2 separate regions of the Homo sapiens genome follow, and region 2 is linked to region 1. Evidence: promoter capture Hi-C in 16 types of primary human blood cells and fetal thymus (Javierre and others, 2016). All regions are on one chromosome and are shown on one strand. The core of a region is centred on a gene start or on the middle of the fragment in contact, and the rest is flanking DNA. Distances in the headings are between cores, read along the strand shown. Region 1 holds the start of REX1BD (required for excision 1-B domain containing). Region 2 has its middle 3.8 kb from the start of COMP.

The links. Contacts are between HindIII fragments. The CHiCAGO score rates a contact against its expected background, and 5 or more counts as called.
Region 2: a contact is called between a fragment that was not itself captured here and the fragment with the promoter of REX1BD in region 1, in 1 of 17 cell types (M0 macrophages). The highest score is 5.1, in M0 macrophages.

The regions. Positions count from the first base shown.
Region 1 is chr19:18,586,683-18,590,852 of GRCh38, reverse strand. It overlaps REX1BD (required for excision 1-B domain containing), which reads right to left and starts at 2,055. Exons shown (of 5, transcript NM_001100418.2): 1 at 1,953-2,055; 2 at 1,776-1,858; 3 at 1,170-1,440. The coding sequence starts at 2,051. RefSeq lists a silencer at 1,708-2,227. The HindIII fragment of the contact is 10,738 bases long and covers 1-2,816 here.
Region 2 is chr19:18,792,994-18,797,163 of GRCh38, reverse strand. No RefSeq gene overlaps it. Among named protein-coding and RNA genes, the nearest start is that of COMP, 3.8 kb to the right of the region's middle. RefSeq lists an enhancer at 1,455-1,984. The HindIII fragment of the contact is 4,570 bases long and covers 1-4,170 here.

The DNA of each region.
Region 1 (4,170 bases), core at 806-3,305:
TGGTGGGGGAATGAGCAACACGAAGGATGTCTCCACGAGCAGAACCCACCCCCTGCCCTCCAAGGATGTTCAGGAAAAAACAGAGGCACCCAGAAAGGCAGTGCCCGGGTAGAACCACGAGGGGCAGTGCTTTGTGTAGGAAGAGTCCGAAATTCAGTTTAGAGGCTCTCTCAGAAAGGAGACAGCAGGCAGGCCAGAGGCAGTGCTGAGCGCGATGTGGGCGTGGCCTGGGAACAACAGTGACGTCTTAGCCAGGCATTGGCCGTAGGGGTGGGTTAGGTTGCGCCTCATGGTCCCAGGGACGGGGACCCAGGATAAAAGTAGGCCAAAAAGCCTGGACGCGGTGGCTCACGCCTGAAATCCCAGCACTTCGGGAAGCAGAAGAGGGCGGATCGCTTGAGACCAGGAGTTCGAGACCAGCCTTGCCCATATGGCACAACCCCGTCTCTACTAAAAAAAATACAAAATACAAAAATTATGCCTGTAATCCCAGCTACTCAGGAGGCTGAGGCAGGAGAATCGCTTGAATCTGGGAGGCGGAGGTTGCCGTTAGCCGAGATCGCGCCATTGCACTCTAGCCTGGGTGAGAGAGCAAGAGAGCAAGAGCCTGTCTTAAAAAAAAAAAAAAAAAAAAAAAACACCAGAAAGAAAAAGGCCAAAGAGACGCTGAGACGGGTCGCTCATGGGGGGCGTGGCCTAGGAATTCCAGTCACACACGGTTGCAGGGCCGAGCAGGCGGATCGCAAGAGAGAAATAGGCAAAGAACTAAAGCTGTGATGGAGGAATAATACGGAGGAGGCGTGGCCTGGGACCCCCCTCGCCTGTATCTACGGGAGGTTGAGGGTGGGACCCTAGACGCGGAACAACCAGAGTGGGTGGAGCATTGTTGGGGCGGGATCTGGGCATCTTGGAATAGCATTTAGGCGGAGCTGGGAGAAAGCGGGAGTGCTCTGGGAATAAGGACAAAACTTGGGAAAAAAATTGGGGATGAACAGCAGAGGGCAAGGTCCGAGAATCCCCAAGTGAAGCCTTAATAGAGGATTGGGGTGGGACAGGAAGGGGTGAGGTCTGTGTATGGGATACTGGGACCACCCCCCAACCAGGGGTGCGTCATGAGAGGAGCCGGCCAGGGTCCTAGAGACACGGCGGGGAAGGGGTGGTGGCCTCACCGTGCCCAGCCGCGTCTGCTCCAGCTCCTGCAGGCTGCGCACGTGGCCGGCGAGCAGCGGCTGCCTGCGAGGCCCGCCCAGCTCTGCTTCCACCGCCAGCACCTCCCGCGAGGCGGCGGCGAAGGCCTGGGTCACCCCGTGCACTGTGCTCCGGTAGCGCGCGAAGTCGTAGTCAGGGCCGCTGCGCAGGTACTGGCGGTGGCCTCTGCGGCATGTGGGGACCCTGAGGCCGCGCCCCCAGGCTCTCAGGCCCTGCACCGGCGCCAACCACCTGAAAGGCCCCCAGGAAGTGTCCCCAGACACCAGAGGGGAGGACTGGTAGGTAGGAAGGACGCTTCCTGACTCCCGCAGGGGAACGCGAGACAGGCCCACCCCTGCTCTTGGGGAGGAGAGAGAAGCCACGAAGAGTGAGTCGTCGGGTAGTGGGGACGTGCTGTGGGGCCTTTTTCGTGAAGGTGAGGACCCGGTGCCCCGAAATCCCCGCCCCATCTGACTCTGCAGCCACACAAGGACCCAGCTCCTCCTCCAGGCACGCCCGCCGAGAACACGCCCACGCCCGGAGCGGGCGGGGGACCGAACCCTGAGCCCCTCCGCGCCCCCACTCACTCCTCCAGTCGGCGGAAGCCCTGCGCGCGCTCAGCCTGCAGCTGGTGGATGCGCTGCACCAGCGTCCGGATCGGGGCGTCTTTCTGCGGGACAGGGGGCACGGCTGGGGCATGAAGCCCGCGCCCCTGGGTCTGCGCCGCCCGCCCCGCGCCCGTTCCCGCTTGGGCCTGGGCTCACCCAGGGCCACGCCGGCTCCTCGCGTCCCCGAGCTTCGGTGGCCTCCTCAGCAGCAGGCACTGCAGGGACCGTAGGCTCCGCCGCGGTCTCGGTGATCATGACTGCGCAGCCCTGGCCAGGCTCCGGAGCAGGCCCTTCCGCTGCGCCCGACGCCCCCTACAGGCCGGGAGGTCCACGGACCCCCTACCCTGCGGCCGGCCAGCCAGAAGGAAGAAAGGGGAACCAAGACCGCGGGCCGCCCAGTCAAGCCCACCCTTCTTGTTCCCGTCCAGGGCCCGCCTCCGATCGTGTTTTTCCTTGATTGTGCGGCTCTGAATACAGAACAGCTGTTAGCCTTGAGTTCGTTCCTATGCTTGTATCTCAACACCGACTTCCACTTGAAGCGGGTACTGAGCGTGGGTTTTGACGTTCAAGAGTGTTAAGTAAGCCTGGGCAACCTAGGGAGGCCCGATCTCTACAGAAAAACCAATTAGCCCGACATGGTGGCTCCCGCCTCCAGTCCCAGCTACTCGGGAGGCTGAGGTGGGAGGATTACATGAGCCCGGGAGTTGGGGGCTGCCATGAGCTATGACCATGCCACTGCACTCCAGCCGGAGCCACAGTGAGTCTGCCTCAAAAAAAGTGCAGTGGCTGGAACTCCACCAACATTAACAGAGATTCACTGGCTCTTCAGAGAATCACAGGGGTGAAGACAAGATTCAGTGACAGGGACGGTGTCAACAGCCCACCGAGTTGAATTGGGTGTCTTGTGTAATAGCCCTGAGCCTGGAGCATAGCAGGGGCCAGAACGACCTCAAAGTACAGAGGAGGCCTTGGAGCTTCCTGCTGGAGGGATACATGGGCTAGACAGAGCTTTGGAAAGCTTCCTCCTCCAGGGGCCCAGCCGGAGGAGCAGGAAGATGCTGGTAGCCTGACTTAGTGAAGAGGGACCAGCTCAGGTATGGGGTGACAGACACCAGCCTTTAAGGGGGAAGGGACTAGGCTGTTAGTGAGTTGGGAGTTTTTCTTGCCGATGGGTTCGTGGTCTCGCTAACTTTGAAGAATGAAGCTGTGGACCTTCGCGGTGTGTGTTACAGATCAAAAAGAGTCCACGGACCAGGAGAGTGAGCAGCAGGGCAGTTTATTGAACAAAGCGAAAGGAAAGCTTCCACATGCTGGAAGGGGACCCGGAAGGGTTGCCGTTGCTGGCTCCGGTGGCTAGGGCTCATATCCCTATGTTACCCCTCCCCTTTCTTTTTGTCCATTGAGAGTGGTTCTTTTTTCAATCCTCCTCTGGAGTGTTTTTTTTTTTTGTTTTTTTTTTTTTTTTTTTTTAGTGAGACAGAGTCTCGCTCTGTCGCCCAGGCTGCAGTGCAATGGCACGATCTCGGCTCACTTCAAGCTCTGCCTCCCGGGTTCACGCCATTCTCCTGCCTCAGCCTCCCCAGTAGCTGGGACCACAGGCGCCCGCCACCACACCCGGCCAATTTTTTGTATTTTTAGTAGAGGCAGGGTTTCACCGGGTTAGCCAGGATGGTCTCAATCTCCTGACCTCGTGATCCGCCCGCCTCGGCCTCCCAAAGTGCTGGGATTACAGGCGTGAGCCACCGCGCCCGGCCTGGAGTGGTTAATTCTGAATCCTTCACTCGATTGGTTAAGAACTCAAAACACTGAGTCACAGGGGTCTTCTGTGAAAGTCCCCAAACCTGCCCAGTAAATCCTGCCAACTCCACCCCTCAGTCCCCTCTCTCAACAGGAGAGCCCAACTGCTGTTGGGGTGTGGGAGGATGACCACTCTAATTGCTTCCTGCTGAATAGGGGCATAGAAGGGGTTCTGTAGCTGAGGTTTCCTCGTGAGAGGTGGTTTGGGTGTCAACGTCCGGGTATGGGCCGGCAGGCTGGTTTAGGGGTCCTTGATAATAGGTGCTGGTTGAAGTCATCTGAGGTTCCATCTGCAGTAACATTTCTAGTTTCATTGATTCTATTCAGGAAGAAACGAAAGGATGAAGGAACTGAAAAGACATGGGCCAAAGGTTACTCCTAGAATAATCATAAGGAAGGGACCTAAAAATGGAAGAAGCCAGTGGAGAACAGGCTGTGAGAACCCTGAGGTAGTTTCGGTTGTCCCACCATGTAGTCTGCTAGCTCTATCCTGAAGTCATTTAATTCCATCTCTCACTATGCCTGATTTATTGACATAAAAACAACATTCCTTGTTCAGAAAAAGGCATGTTCCTCC
Region 2 (4,170 bases), core at 661-3,160, 210 kb before region 1:
CAGAGAGGAAGAGAGAGAGACAGGGAGGAGGGAAGAAGGAAGGGAGAGGGGGAGGGAGGAAGGAGGAAGGGAAGGAAGGAAGGAAGGAAAAGAGAAAAAAGAAAGAAACCAGTATCAATTGAATATTGTGAAATTCCTATCTGTTCCTAGTGAATTTTTTTTTTTTTTTTTTTTTTTTTTTTTTTTTTGACACAGAGTCTTACTCTGTCGCCCAGGCTGGAGTGCAATGGTGCAGTCTCGGGTCACTGCAACCTCCGCCTCCTGAGTTCAAGCAATTCTCCCGCCTCAGCCTCCTAAGTAAGTAGCTGGGATTACAGACACCTGCCATCATGCCCGGCTAATTTTTGTACTTTTGTACAGACAGGGTTTCACCATGTTGGCCAGGCTGGTCTTGAACTCCTGACCTCAGGTCATCCGCCCTCCTTGGCCTCCCAAAGTGCTGGGATTACAGACGTGAGCCACCACGCCCGGCCTCTGGTGAAATTCTTTCTCTCCTGAAGCAACTCTTCAGTATAGTAACCTGAGAAGTAAAATTTTACATTATAAGAAACTTTCGAAGGTGGCAAAAAAAAGAAGAAGAAATAAAGGAAAAAAGAAGAAACTGAGGCACAGAGAGGTTAAGCAACTTGCCTCATGTACCACAGCAGAGCTGGGATATGAAACTCAGGCTCTGATGCCAGAGACTGAGACCTTCATCACTGTGCCCCACTGTCTCCCATGATGACAAATTCCTGCCTTCTGGGACTTAAGGGATGACAGAAAGAGAAAACCCACAAAGGCTGAGTGGTAAGGTTTCAAGCATTTGGCACTTGCTCAAGAAAACTGTAGCCACTGTATTTATTGTTGTCTTCTTCCTTTATCGCCATCCAGTAGAGCCTGGGATGCAATGGGGGTAGGGACTGAGTAAAAGGAGAATGGGGCTGGGTGCAGTGGTGCACATCTGTGATCCCAGCACTTTGGGAGGCTGAGGTGGGAGGATCACTTGAGCCCAGAAGTTGGAGGCTGCAATGAGTGAGCTATGATTGTCACTGTACTTCAGGCCAGGCAACAGAGCAAGACCCTGTTTCAAAAAAAAAAAAAAAAAAAAGGAGACTGGGAGAGGAGGTGGCACCTGCCAAAGGTCACACGGCCAGTCGGGGGGCGTCTCCTGGACTTCAAAGCTCAGAGCCCCCCATCCCACCCCTGCCTTTTGTTCCTTCTAGAGAGATGCCTCCAGTACGTCTCTCCCAGTTCAAGGCAGGCTGAGGATGCAGAGGTCGCCAAGCTGCCCTCCCCTGCCGCCCTGATGAATTCCGCAGACTGGGGGCCTACAGCCCGGCCCGCCCAGGGCAGGGCGGCTGCCTTCACAACATACTTTCCTTCTGCATTCACAAAGGCAGGCAACGGTGGGGGCGGGAGGCAGGGAGCCGGGGCGCCCACACGTCTCCTGGCTGAGCAGACGTCTGCCAGGAAGGGCCCCGGGGCCCCATCATGCAGGCACCCGTCCCTCTTCCCCAGCCTGGCCGGGCTCCTGGAACCACGGGGCCTGGTGTGGGGCTGGCTGGGGCGCCGGCCAGATGCTCTGGCCAGGAGGTCCTGGGCCGAGAAGACATCCCAGTTAATGAGGGGCTCGGGCCAGCGAAATGCTGGATTCTGTTTCTGTGGCAAGGACAGAGAGGGCGGGTATGAAGGGCTTGAGGGTCTTGCATGCCTCAGTTCTAATTCTGGCTGTGTGACCTCAGACTGTCTCTTCTCCTCTCTGAGTAAGATAGAAATAAGAACGATCTGAGGTATAAGCGACAGGCACAGGGTATAAGTTTTTTTGTTTTGTTTTGTTTTTTTGAGACAAGGTCTCACTCGGTCGCCCAGGCTGGAGTGCAGTGATGTGATCTCGGCTCACTGCAACCTCTGCCTCCCCGGTTCAAGTGATTCTCCTGCCTCAGCCTCCCGATTAGCTGGGATTACAGGCACGCGCCACCACGTCCAGCTAATTTTTGTATTTTGAGTAGAGATGGAGTTTCACGTTGGCCACACTGGTCTCGAACTCCTGGCCTCAGGTGATCCACCTGCTGTGGCCTCCCAAAGTGCTGGGATTATAGGTGTGAGCCACCACACTGGCCCACGGTGTATAAATTTCATATGGAATAAGCACGCTAGTAGCGCTGGAGCTGGGCGCTGGGCTGAAGGATTTCCATGGGTCAGCTCATTCAATCCTCTCAACAGTGATCATCCTCATTTTATGGGTGAGAAAACTGAAGCACAGAGAGGTTAAGTGACTTGTCCTAGGTCACACAGTAAGGCCATGCTCACCAATATTTGAACCCAGGCTGTGTGGCCCCCTTCCCTGCCATATCAAGTACAGAGGTGGCAGGGGTTACTAGGATTCATATGATAATGTTGGCTGGGTGCAGTGGCTGAAATCCCAGGGTTTTGAGAGGCCGAGGAAGGAGGATCTGTTGAGCCCAGGAGTTCGAGACTAGCCTGGGCAACATAATAAGACCCCCATCTCTATTTTAAAAAAAAAAAAAAATAGTAATGACATTACATTAATTATAAAAAGTAGTAATGGCCAGGCGCGGTGGCTCACGCCTGTAATCCCAGCACTTTGGGAGGCTGAGGCAGGTGGATCACCTGAGGTCAGAAGTTCGAGACCAACCTGGCCAACATGGTGAAACCCCGTCTCTACTAAAAATATAAAAAAATTAGCTGGGCGTGGTGGCAGGTGCCAGTAATCCCAGCTACTCAGGAGGCTGAAGCAGGGGAATCACTTGAACTCAGGAGGCAGAGGTTGCAGTGAGCCGAGATTGCACCATCGCACTCCAGCTGGGCGACAAAAGTGAGACTCCATCTCAAAAAAAAAAAAAAAAAATAGTAATGAACACGAATCATAGGGATGCTGTCCCGGCTCACCAAGCCCTCCAGCCTAACCTTTCTACACCAGTCCAGGCCCCTGGGTGGGAGCCCCTCAGGCTCGGAGGGACAGAGCAAACCACAGACACTCACAGTCCCGAGGATCATGGCTAGGCTGGAAGGTTATCTGGAGAATATCAGCAGGGAAGGCTTCCTGGAGGAGGGGACATTATAGCTGGACCTTGAAGGATGGAGGAGTTTGTACGAGGTGGGGGGAACAGCAGGTACAAAGGCCCAGAATGACACCTACAGTGAGTTATTCTGTAATCTGAGGCAAGTGTGGTGTGCACAGGAGGAGGGGACTGCTGCCTAGAAGGGGGATTTCAGGGCTGGCGAGATCCAGGAGGCAGGAGTGTGACCCCAGACATCCCCTTTCCGGGCCTCTGTTGTCCGATCTTGGGACACCCTCAGGAACTCCACCTTTGTAGTTCCCTCCGCCTGGAATGCCCTTCCCTGCAACTCCCCGTGGCCCAGCCATGGATAAGGCCACGTGTGTCCAAGCCCCAGCACTGTGACCAGCCTGTGGCAGGGGCCTGGCTTCCATGTGCTCCTGTCCTAGCTGTGTGCAGCATATGCCAGCCCCCAGGCCCCACTGGAGCTGTGGTTTTCCCGAGAATTCCAGTGCTGCCAGGAGCGGCCCCCAGGTGTGCTGAAGGCCAAGGAAAACAGGAGGTGAGCTCATGGCCCCAATGTAGGCAGCAGGCAGGGCAGGCACTATTGAGGACAGGCTTCATTGGAAATGCTCTGGCTGGGACCAGCTGCTTCCACCAACACTCCACTTATAGGCCTGTCTCTCTTCACGCACTCTCTGTGGCTCCCCATTACCCTCGGGAGACCACTGGAGCCCCACACCACCAGCACTGCCCTTTCACACACAGCCTCATCTCCTGCTTCTCACTGAGCCCCAAGAGCTTGTCACCTTGAGGTCAGTCCATCCAACGGGCCAGGTTGGTTCCTGCCTCAGGGCCTTTGCCTATGCTGTTTCCTCTACCTGGAATGACTTTCTGCTACCTCTGCCTGGCTGTGTCCTCCTCATCATCCGGTCCTCAGCTTGGTGGTCCCTCCTCCTCCAGAAGCCCGCCCTGACCCATCCCCTTTCAAACAGATCAATTTCCTGGGGACTCCTACCATTGTCTGTGTGTCCCGTCACAGCCATGAGCCCACTGGGCTCCCCATTTGAAGGAGAGACTGGGTCTGGCTTCTTCACCCTGTGTGCCCATCACCCAGCACAGGAGACATGACACACAACAGTCCTTGATGTTTGTGAAATAATTATTGTGT